Linked DNA regions of Homo sapiens: region 2 is linked to region 1. Evidence: promoter capture Hi-C in 16 types of primary human blood cells and fetal thymus (Javierre and others, 2016). All regions are on one chromosome and are shown on one strand. Each heading gives the region's core, a stretch centred on a gene start or on the middle of the fragment in contact. The rest is flanking DNA. Distances are from core to core; before and after follow the strand shown. Region 1 holds the start of PPP6C (protein phosphatase 6 catalytic subunit). Region 2 holds the start of MIR181A2HG (MIR181A2 host gene).

What was found. The method cuts DNA at HindIII sites, captures the fragments that hold promoters and counts their contacts. A CHiCAGO score of 5 or more calls a contact.
Region 2: a contact is called between a fragment that was not itself captured here and the fragment with the promoter of PPP6C in region 1, in 1 of 17 cell types (fetal thymus). The highest score is 6.7, in fetal thymus.

Annotation. Positions count from the first base shown.
Region 1 is chr9:125,186,816-125,192,612 of GRCh38, reverse strand. It overlaps PPP6C (protein phosphatase 6 catalytic subunit), which reads left to right and starts at 2,810. Exons shown (of 7, transcript NM_002721.5): 1 at 2,810-2,969. The coding sequence starts at 2,895. RefSeq lists enhancers at 2,533-2,612, 1,915-2,701, 2,702-3,488. The HindIII fragment of the contact is 2,825 bases long and covers 2,160-4,984 here.
Region 2 is chr9:124,654,696-124,660,492 of GRCh38, reverse strand. The region is part of intron 2 of NR6A1 (nuclear receptor subfamily 6 group A member 1); the gene reads left to right. MIR181A2HG (MIR181A2 host gene) reads right to left here and starts at 2,057. Exons shown (of 2, transcript NR_038975.1): 1 at 1,752-2,057. RefSeq lists enhancers at 1,020-1,069, 1,891-2,010. The HindIII fragment of the contact is 181 bases long and covers 2,494-2,674 here.

The DNA of each region.
Region 1 (5,797 bases), core at 1,561-4,060:
TTGTCACCCGGGCTGGAGTGCAATGACGCTATCTCAGCTCACTGCAACCGCAACCTCCATCTCCCAGGTTCACGCAATTCTCCTGCCTCAGCCTCCCAAGTAGCTGAGATTACAGGCACACACCACCATACCCGGCTAATTTTTTGTATTTTTAGTAGAGACAGGGTTTCACTATATTGACCAGGCTGGTCTCAAACTCCTGACCTCATGATCCGTCCGCCTCGGCCTCCCAAAGTGCTGGGATTACAGGCGTGTGCCACCATGCTGGGCCCTTTTTTTTCCCCCAAAGGACACAAGTACAGGTAAGAAAATGTAGTTTTTTGTTTTTTTTTTTTTTTTAGACAGGGTCTCACTTTCTCTCCCAGGCTAGAGTGCAGTGGTGGGATCTCAGCTGGTCAGGAACTCCTGACCTCAAAAAGACCTGCCCGCCTCGGTCTCCCAAAATGCTGGGATTACAGGCGTGAGCCACTGTGCCCAGCCAAAGGTAGACCTCGTCTACTCCATTTTTCTTGCTTATAGTACCTCCTATTTTCCCTTTTGAGTACTAATCACAATTTGCAATTAAATATTTGCTCACTGCCAGGTATGGTGGCTTACACGTATAATCCCAGCACTTTGGGAGGCCAAAGCAGCGGAATAGCTTGAGGCCAGGAATTTAAAACCAGCCTCAGCAAGACCTCACCTCAACAATTTTTTTTTTTTTTCTGTTGGCCAGGCTGGAGTGCAGTGGCACGACCTCAGCTCCCTGTAACCCCCACCTCAAAGCAATTTTCATGCCTCAGACTCCGGAGTAGCTGGGATTACAGGCATGTGCTACAATGCCCAGCTAATTTTTGTATTTTTAGTAGAGATCAGGTTTCACCATGTTGGCCAGGATGGTCTTGAATTCCTAGCCTCAAGATATCTGCTCACCTTGGCTTCACTACTGGGATTACAAGTTTGAGCCACTGCACCCGGCCTCAACAAAAACAAAAATTTTAATTACCTCACCCTATGCATCTCTTCATTTGTATCCTTTGTAATATCCTTTATATTAATAATAAACCAGTAAATGTAAATAAATAAATAAATACTGTTTGTCTCTTCCCAGCAGATTGTAAGCCTGATTAGGGCAGGGATCATATCTGTTTTATTCACATCATAAGCACTGTGTAACCTCTGGTTTCTTTTCTCTTTGAGATGGAGTTTCACTCTGTGGCCCAGGCTGGAGTACAGTGGCGCCATCTCAGCTCACTGCAACCTCTGCCTCAAGCAATTCAAGTGATCCTCCTGCCTCAGCCTCCCCAGTATTTTGTATTTTTAGTAGAGATGGGGTTTCGGCATGTTGGCCAGGCTGGTCTTGAACTCCTGACGTCAGGTGATCTGCCTGCCTTGGCCTCCCAAAGTGCTGAGATTACAGGCATTAGCCACCGCGGCCTGGCCAATAGGCACTATGTAACTATTAGTTTAATGAATGAAGAAATGAATGCTTGTGGGCATCATTCATTCTGCAACAAACTTCTAAAAATTAATTTTACTTTGAAACAATTTCATACTTTCAGAGGAGTTACAAGAATAATACAAAGAAGTTCACCCAGATATCTCATTCAGGGTTAGCCAATTGTCCACAAAATATACTTTAGAGAGCAAGAGGATTAATTCCAGGGTCTCTTGAGCAACAAATATTTATTGAGCGCCTGCTACTATTGGATTACATAACAGTCTCTTAACTGGTCTCTTAGCTATAGGCATTGCACCCCCACCCCTAGTCCCATACAGCAGCTCCTTTTACTAATTTATTTTTGAGGAGGATCTCGCTCTGTCGCCCAAGCTGGAGTGCAGTGCCGCGATCTCAGCTCACTGCAACCTCCGCCTCCCAACTCAAGCGGTTCTCCTGCCTCAGCCTCCAGAGTAGCTGGGACCACAAGCACGCACTACCGCGCCAGGCTAATTTTGGTACTTTTTGTAGCTACAGATAGAATAGAGATCTTTGTCTATTTTGTTCACGAAGTACTGCAAGCGCCTTGAGCTGTACCTGGCACATCTTTGTTGCTCAGCAAAGAGTGGTTGGATAAACGAACGCTGAAGGTATGCTAGTACCAGGTACTGTTCTCGGTGCTGGAGTTACAGCAAAAAACTCCCTGCCCTCGTGGGATTCTCACTGGAAGCATGCTTAAGCTTAAGCCATTTTTCAATCTTGACCCCACCATTTTGTTCCCTGTGAGATTTGGGGTGAACTGCAGTTTCCTAGCCTCACTTTCCTATCAATCGTTACGAAGATTAAAAGGAAAAATATCATTTGTATCGCATTTAGCATCAGAAATGCTTTAATAATATTCGTTTCCCTTCCTTTCAGGCTGGAAGACTGGGGCCTGACATCTCTGCCACAGGCTTAGGCGAGGTTTTCACAGGGACTTGGAAAGGTGCAAACGGTTACTACGGCCAGGCTTACCCAATTGTTAAGTGAAGATATTCTGGAGAGTGCTTAAAAGGGTTGGAAAAACAAACCAGTGAGTGGCTAGGACCACCTACTCCGCTGTTTTGCCTCGGAAAAGCCTCGCCGGCTGCCGGGAGGTGAAAGTCTGGAGGAACGGGAGGAAAAGAGAGGGGTGGCTGTCCACAACAGAAAACTACACATCCCAGCACCCCCGCGGCAGACGACTACGGGTCCCAGCAGGTTTCGCGGGGTGGACCGAAGCGGGCTCTCTTGGGGCCTGCAGTCGGGGTTCAGCCAGAGGGGGCGCCGGGCGTACCGACGTAGCGGGGAGAAACGGGTCGCGCTTTAACGGCGCTGCGCAGGCGCCACTCACGGGCCGGACGTGACGCAGGGAAAGTTCCGGCTTCGGCCTCCGCCGCTGCCGCCGCCGCTGCTACAGCCGCCGCCGCCGCTGTTGCCGCGGCTTGTTATTCTTAAAATGGCGCCGCTAGACCTGGACAAGTATGTGGAAATAGCGCGGCTGTGCAAGTACCTGCCAGAGAACGACCTGAAGGTGAGCCCTATTTGCGGGCTCGCCCCTTCCGGCTGTGGGGCGCCCGCCGGCCGGCCCTTCCTTTCTCCAGGACCCCCGCCGGGTATCCAGTCCAGTCGCGGTGGAGGGCCTCCCCCATTGCCAGTCGACCCGGTCCTACCCGGCGTCACGCCGAGGGTCTCGCGAGCCGAGTCGTCGAATGCTGTCCCGGTTGCCTCAGTGGGGATCCCGAGGGATGTCGCGGCCTCTGTCCCAGGGTCGCCCCTTCTGGCCTTCGGGCTGCCCCAGGACCCGCAGCTGTAACAGCTTTATTTAGAAGGCTCGGCTCCCCACCCCATCCCTGGGTCTCCCGCAGTCGGAGCCGAGCCCCCGCGGCAGTGCCCTCGGGATGGGGTCGCCTCCACCGGAGGTGACAGGAGCGCGGAGTGGCCGGCGTCTGACAGGAGATGCCACCGGCTACCGGAACGCGGCCTCAGTGTGTTTAGGTCTCTGAGGAAGGGGAAGGCGGTGGGCCCGAGTGGTTTGGTACTGGCGGGAGCGAACGTCAGGTCGTCCCTCTTCATTGCCACTCCTCCAAATTGCTTTTTAGGATCGTCGGTTTTGCTAATTCAGAGGTGAATCCCGTTTCTGAGTATGTTGTTGAGCTTACTGAAGTGGATAAAGTAGTTGGTTCTCAATAAATACAAATACTTTCTCCTTAACCCCTTCTTAACTCAGTATTTCATTTTCTTCGTTTTCTAAAGGAGGTGAGTTCCTTGTTACTCCTGAGTCCAAGTAAGAGTAAATGTATGTATGGGTAAAGGAATGACTTTGGTATACTGCTTTTCTTTTTTAAAACTTTTTAATTATTATTATTATTATTATTATTATTGTTTTTAACTGAGATAGAGTCTCACTCTGTCACCCAGGCTGGAGTGCAGCGGTGCGATCTTGGCTCACTGCAACCTCCACTTCCCGGGTTCAAGCGATTCTCCTGCCTCAGCCTCCCGACTAGGTGGAATTACAGGCGCCCGTCACGACGCCCGGCTGTTTTGTATTTTTAGTAGAGACGGGGTTTCGCCATGTTGGCCAGGCTGGTCTTGAACTCCTGACCTCAAGTGATCCGCCCGCTTCGGCCTACCAAAGTGCTGGTATTACAGGCGTGAGCCACCGCGCCGGCCTAGGTATACTGCTTCTTTGAAAAGTGTTTCTATGCATTTGCTGAAATCAGAGCTTAGGTTTCTAGCAGTGCTTATCAGCTCGTGCTAGTATTTAACCGACTCAGTGTATTCTTTTTTTTTGAGACGGAGTCTCGCTCTGTCGCCCAGGCCGGAGTGCGGTGGCACCATCTCGGCTCACTGCAACCTCCGCCTCCCGGGTTCACGCCATTCTCCTGCCTCAGTCTCCCGAGTAGCTGGGACTACAGGTGCCCGCCACCACGCCTGGCTAATTTTTTGTATTTTTAGTAGAGACGGGGTTTCACCGTGTTAGCCAGGATGGTCTCGATCTCCTGAACTCGTGATCCGCCCGCCTCGGCCTCCCAAAGTGCTGGGATTACAGGCGTAAGCCACCGTGCCCAGCCCCGACTCAGTGTATTCTTAAGGAAATATATTACTGTGGGTTTTGTTTTATTTCTTCTTTGTACAGTAAGTTGATACTTAACATCAGTCAACAAGTATGCATAATATTTGAGGCCACACGTGCTGTTGTGAATGTGACTGAATTGTACTTACCTGTTAATTTTATGTGGCATATGATAGGGGAGTCATTCTTGTGCATTTTCCCGTTTTTAATAGAATAATTTCAAATAAGGACAGCCTTCGTTAGTAGTAATGTAGCATTTGTGCTCATCTGAGTCCTTCAGACATTCCTTTTGTGGCTTCTTTCTGCTATGTGGTTTTTTTAAGGGAATAAGAATACAACTAGCATTGGGACCCAATTCATGGAAAACTAACCAGACCTCTTAGTAGCATTATTAATCCCATAGGTGAGGTTGACTATTGCATGTCAGTGAATTGACATGGAATTTTTTCTTCTTATTTATCATGCATAAAGCTTTTTTGAACTTTGTGTTTATGATGAATAAAATGTTGCTTTTTATGAAAATGTGTCTAGGGCACAGTGGCGTAATCTCAGTACTTGGGGAGGCTGAGGTGGGCAGATCATTTGAGATCAGGAGTTTGAGACCAGACTGACCGACTTGGTGAAACCCCCTCTCTACTAAAAACACAGAAATTAGCCGAGCATGGTGGTAGGTGCCTGTAATCCCAGTTTACTTACTTGGGAGGCTGAGGCAGGGAGAATGGCTTGAACCCGGGAGAATTGCTTGCAGTGAGCCGGGATCACACCACTGTACTCCAGCCTGGGAGACAGAGCAAGACTCTGTCTCAAAAAAAAAGAAAAGGAAATTGGGCACTGAAATGATTTGAAAGATAATCTGGCCAGGTGCAGTGGCTCACGCCTGTAATCCCAGCACTTTGGGTGGCTGAGGCAGGTGGATCACTTGAGGTCAGGAGCTCGAGACCAGCCTGGCCAACATGGTGAAACCCCGTCTGTACTAAAAATACAAAAATAAACTGGAGGTGGTGGCAGGTGCTTGGAATCCCAGCTACTTGGGAGGCTGAGGCAGGAGAATCGCTTGAACCAGGGAGGCGGAGGTTGCAGTGAGCCAAGATTGCGCCACTGCAGTCCAGCCTGGGTGACAGAGGGAGACTCCGTCTCACCAAAAAAAAAAAAAAAAAAAAAAAGAAAGAAAAATCTGTTGGACTTCTTTGTACCTCTTAGTTTGATAAACATTAGATTTCCTTCTTACCTTAAGGAAGTACAATTTTTAGACCATTTTATTTCTTGTTGAAACATAGCTGCATTGT
Region 2 (5,797 bases), core at 1,335-3,834, 530 kb after region 1:
GAATTGCTGTCTGGTTTCTATTCAAATCCAGGTAGCGAGATATATGAATGGACTTTTCGAATCGTCATGTGAATAACGTCTGCTCGGCATGAAGGCTCAGAGCCATGCTAGGAAGGATTAACTCGTAGGCTGACCACTAACATCCTTTGTGGTACGAGGGAGAAACATTCCCAAGTATCATTTTATTCACACTTAATTTTCTATCCCATACCCCCAAAATAAGGCTAGCTATTTAATTAGTTGGCTGCTTTTCTCTTAATTTTTAGTGTTTCTGTTGATAATGTGTAAGTTTGGGAAAATGCTAAGTAGCTTTTCACTTAGAACACTGTTATTTTCTCTTTAAAGTTTTCTACCTTACATTTATTATAGCATAGTTATCTTTATAGCATAGATGCAGAAAGTAAGAGAGAGCTTGTTTTTTCAAGAAAACAACCCTTTAAAATACTTTCCAACCCATGAAGGGAAAAATCCTCCTTTTTTCCCCCAAGTGCATTCTACTTATTACTTTGCATTTTTCTCCCAAAGTCCAAATTTATGCAAAGAAAATAGAAACAAGTTCAAATGCAATGCATTAACCAAATAAAACAAGTCTGCTTCAAATTAGGAACCAACCTAAGCATTTGTAAAGTGTAGCAGAATCAGAATTCTTTTAAAAATTAGATTTGGAACCTGAACTATATAATTCATAATTCTCATTTTTCTGTGGAAAATTATTTTATCTTTCTCCTGTATACCTGAAAAAATGTCCATAGGCTTAAAGGGTCATGCTTTTACATTCCTTCCATATCACAGGTACTATGAAGTAAGGAGACTTTTAGGTTTCTTTTTGTCTTAAACTCAGACAGCTTTGTAAGCAGTAGTGTGTAGATTACAAGAGTTAGACAAAAGCAGGCGCGACTGAGAAGAGTTGGTGGGGGAGAAGCTTGGGGCACTTCCTGTCACTCAACACATTCCAGATCACTAAAAAATTTCCACACCCTCTGCATTCCCCCTTGCCCACTCCAGTTCCCGGTATTTTCTGATTCCATATGTTGTGGTATTTACCATACTTCTCTCCCTCACTAGGCTCTGGCAAGACTGCTTCAGAGGGGATGCATTCCTTTAGATTGCACAAAGCGGAGCTGGGAAAATGGCTGGCAGTTTCAGAATCTAGTCACGATCGCACGCATGAGCACCTCACACATCCATGTCCCTACCCGCCCCCCCGCTCCCGCCCCTGCAGCTGGCTGACCTGTCTCACCCACTGCTGGCCTATCGAACGGCCAGGACTGTCTGGTTTTGGCTCGTGCCTTTGTCCATGTCTGGCTTAGTTCCTCTCTGTCTATGCTTGCCTCTACCCCCACCGCCCCAGGCGGCACAAGTGTTTGGCCACACAAAACTAGAGATAGAAAAGGTGGTAAAAACTTCAAACTTTTCTAAATTCTCCAACAGTTTATTTCTTGTGAATTTCTTCCTTCTTTAAATACTCCATTTTAAGAAAACAAAAAAATTAATTATCTAAAGGCAAAGAATGGAAAGCAACCTTTGTGTTCCTTATAATAACTGACTTCATAACTCTCTCCAGCTGCGTTATGGGATGTGTATAAAAAGCTTCTGTTCTGAGAACAAAGGAGCACGTGCAGAAATGAGACGAAAAAATCCACTGACAGTATTCCATTACACAAATTACTTAAAAGATTTTAGTCAAGCCCCTCAACAGATTCAATTTTAAAATGGCTTTTAGTTAAAAAAAAAAAATTGAAAGTGCTTACCCAGTAAAAGAACCGAAGTAGTCCTGAACTGTTACGTAAGACTTTTTACAGTTGGATCTTTGTCAAAAGGGGATGGGGGTGATGGGAGAAAGCAGCAACGACAATCAAAAAAGTTCGAGCTGCTGTGGCTAGAGGACAACTTCTGTGTTTCCAGATAGGATTCTTGCTGTAGAAATGGAACTTCCAGCCAGCACAGCATCCTGTCCCAGTAGAGAAATGAGTTTGTCAGTTAAAACAAAAAAAAAATTAGATACTGGAACCCAGGCTAGACGAGGTATTGAACCGCGCCAGATTTCCTTGCAGCCCTGTCTGCTCAGCTCGCATTGAACTATATATGACCCAGATGATGGACAGAAGCACATTTAGTCATGTGCACACTGGAAGAAAGCGGATTTGCTGGTCCCTGGCAGTGCAGGGGTTTGTCTTCTGATTGGGCTGTGCCCTGATCGGTGAAATGTGAAGCCCTCACCATTCAGAGGCCGTAATTCAGGACTGGCAGTTTGAGTGTCTGGCTGCCTCTAGTCACTGAGAGACTTTGAAGGTGTTGCTTTTGTTTGGTGGCATTACCCACCCAGAGGTTGCTTACACCTCTCTACTTGTGTCAGAAGAAATACTAGTCTTTCTGAAATACAAATAGGCAGCCGATTTTTCCTGAATCCTAAATCACCCTATTGTTGATAAACTTGGCTCTAACTGAAACCAATTATTTGATTTGAAAATTTATTGTGATCCTAACCAAGCTTCATATCCAGACCAACCCTTGGTCTTGATTTTATAGGTTTGATAAGGTAAAAATAAAAGTGGCATATTTGACTTTGAAGCCTCTATATGATATAAATTGCTCTTAATGAAAATTGGATAGATGGACAACAGAGAAGTGAAGTTTTAGATTCTGGAGTGTTTGGATGTATGAGGAAGAAGCTTTATGTCTTTTTATCCCCTTTGTGAGACTGTCACTCTTGTCCCAGTCCTAGTCACATTAGGGGTTGCTGGGGGGGGGAAGCTATGAAAGCATGGACCCTACTGAGCTGTGACATAGCCTTTAATCATGCAAGACAGCCACGGTCTGCTCTCTTCAGTCTGTCTGAACTAGGGTCCTTGGGGTTTATTTTCCATCTTTCTGAGCCACTGGGAAACCAGGTCATTATACAGGACTGTCATTTGTGACATTTTTGTTTAGTACATGGCAGTTGCTTTGTTTATTTAATGCAAGTTGACACTTCTTTAAAGTTTCAAAACAGTAAAGTTGTTTTGTGAGACCTTGACTCTGATATATGAAATCTACTCTACATGGACCAATCATTTTTTTCCGTGGACTTTCTTGTCTCTTTAGAAATTAGCTTATAGAGTCCTAAATTGATACTTAAACATACCAATAGTTCTGTTTATTTCTTGCCTTTCTCACAGTTGTTGAAATAATTCCATCTGTCTCTTTTGCTGTAAATTTTGGGTTTGGATGTTTGTACTTGGAATTTTTTAGATGTTGACTATATTATGCAGCACCTTCCATATGAGGACTACCCCAGAATTATTCTCTTGTCTTAACCCGAGAAAAGCTGTTTTGATGCACTATTAGATATAAGAATGTTCGAAAGAAGAGGAGATGAGCACTCTCTTGCTTTTTGTAAGCCACAAGACAATCTTTTTTTTTTCTAAGTTGTGGTAAGGTATATGTAACATAAAATTGACTGTTGTAATAATTTTTAAGTGTATAGTTCTGTGGTGTTAAGTGCATTCACGTTGTTTTGCAGCCTTCACCACCATCCATCCACCACAGAACTCTTCTCCTCTTGCAAAACTGAAATTCTCTACCTACCTGTTAAACACTAACTTGCCATTCTTCCCTCCCCCAGGCCCTGGGGACAACCATCATTCTACTTTCTCTTTGATTTTTTGTTTTTTGTTTTTGGAGACGGAATTTTACTCTTGTTGCCCAAGCTGGGATGCAATGGCACTGTCTTGGCTCACTGCAACTTCCGCCTCCTGGGTTCAAGCAATTCTCCTTCCTCAGCCTCCTGAGTAGCTGGGACTACAGGTGCCCACCACCACGCCTGGCTAGTTTTTGTATTTTTAGTAGACACGGGGTTTCACCATGTTGGCCAGGCTGGTCTCGAACTCGTGATCTCAAGTGATCCACCCACCTTGGCCTCCCAAAATCCTAGAATTACAGGCATGAGCCCACCGTGCCTAGCCTCTGTCTGTTTGCTTTTTGACTACTCTAGATACCTCATATAAGTGGAATAATACAAGATGTGTTCCCTTTTGACAGGCTTATTTCACTTAGCATGGTGTCCTCAAGGTTCATGCATGTTGTCGCATGTCAGAATTTCCTTACGTTTTAAGGCTGAATAATATACCATTGCATGTGTATACTACTGTCTTAGTCCCTTTAGTGTTGCTGTAAAGGAATACCTGAGGCTGGGTAATTTATAAAGAAAAGAGGTTTATTTGGCTCATGGTTCTGCAAGCTGTACAAGAAGCATGGCACCAGCTTCTGGTGAGGGCCTCAAGCTGCCTCCATTCATGGCACAAGGTGAAAGGGAGCTGGTGTGTGCAGAGATCACATGGTAGGAGAGGAGGAGGCAAGAGAGAGAAGAAGGAGGTGCCAGACTACTTTAAAACCATCAGCTTTTGCAGGGAGTTATAGAGCCAGCACTCACTGACTACTGCAAGAATGGCACCAAGACATTCATGAGGGATCTGCCTTCATGACCCAGACACCTCCCACCAGGCCCCACCACCAACATAAGGGGTTAGATTTCAGCATGAGACTCAATGAGGGGGGAGCAAACAAATTACATCCAAACTGTAGCAACCACATTTTGTTTATCCATTCATCTGTCAATGGACACTTAAGTAGCTTCCACTTTTTTGCTATCAAGACAGTTTTTCTTGACTATTCTTAAAATCATGTGAGGGCTTCTTTACAGAGCTGTTCTGACCCATCTCAGAAGCTCTTTTCACTTTATAAGTTGTAAGGGTTTTGATGGGCCTTTTAACTCTAGAGACCAGCTAGTCCCTAACATCAGGTTTGCTAGAGAAGGGAAGATTCTTTCCAGCCTTCCTGGATGACACCTAATACATACTATATTCCTAGTAATTCTGTTATACTTAAGATTTATGGGTTCATCTTTCCTGTTACACTGTGAGCCCTTCCTGGGCTGGGACGATGGCCAGTTTCTCTTGAGTTGTGCCTTGTGCCTCTGTATAGGCACAGGGCCTATTATGAAGTAGATATCAATAAATATTAGTTGGAAAAAATGTGAATTAGTAAATAATAATTTGTATTGGGTTTTTATGTGCCAGATGTTTTGAATACATTTAGCTAATTTAATCTTCAAAACAGTCCTTTCAGATACATATTGTTATCTTCATTTAATAGATGAGGGAACTTGTCAAAGGCCTCAGAGATGTAAAATGTATAACTGGGATTTGAACCTTTGTTCAAATTGCTTGTTCTCGCTTGACTCAAGAGCCATTATGTTAGAGGCAGACTTCATAGTCAGTTGATGATCAGTGGGTTTGGAAACATGAAATTTAGCTCAGGCATCGGCTCCAAATTAAATACTCTTTCATTGGGCATTAGGAACTATACCCTTCTGATATGGCTCATGAATGGATGCTCAGAGGAAAGCTTGGCTCGTTAGTTACTTGGACCTTTTATAGGGACTTTAGCTGAACAACTAATTGCTGAACTCAGTTGGCAAAGGCTCTTCTGTGGGTAAATCCTCTTTCACATGTTATTTTGAAAGTGCAGTTAAATTCTAACATACATGATGTGGCCCTGGAATGGATGCATCAGTTTTCTTTATTCTGTTTGTTTGGCAGGTGTGTGTGTGTGTGTGTGTGTGTGTGTGTGTGTGTGTACAAAAAAAAAAAATGTATGTATAAAAGCAACCAGTATCTAGGTATCAGGAACAAAACAAAGGTTTTTATGGAGCTTACATTCTAATGGGGAGACAGAAAAATGAATTCTCAAAGTACTATGAAGTGAAACATGAAGCTACACTGTGAAGAAAATAGGGTAGTGTGGTGATGGAGAATGA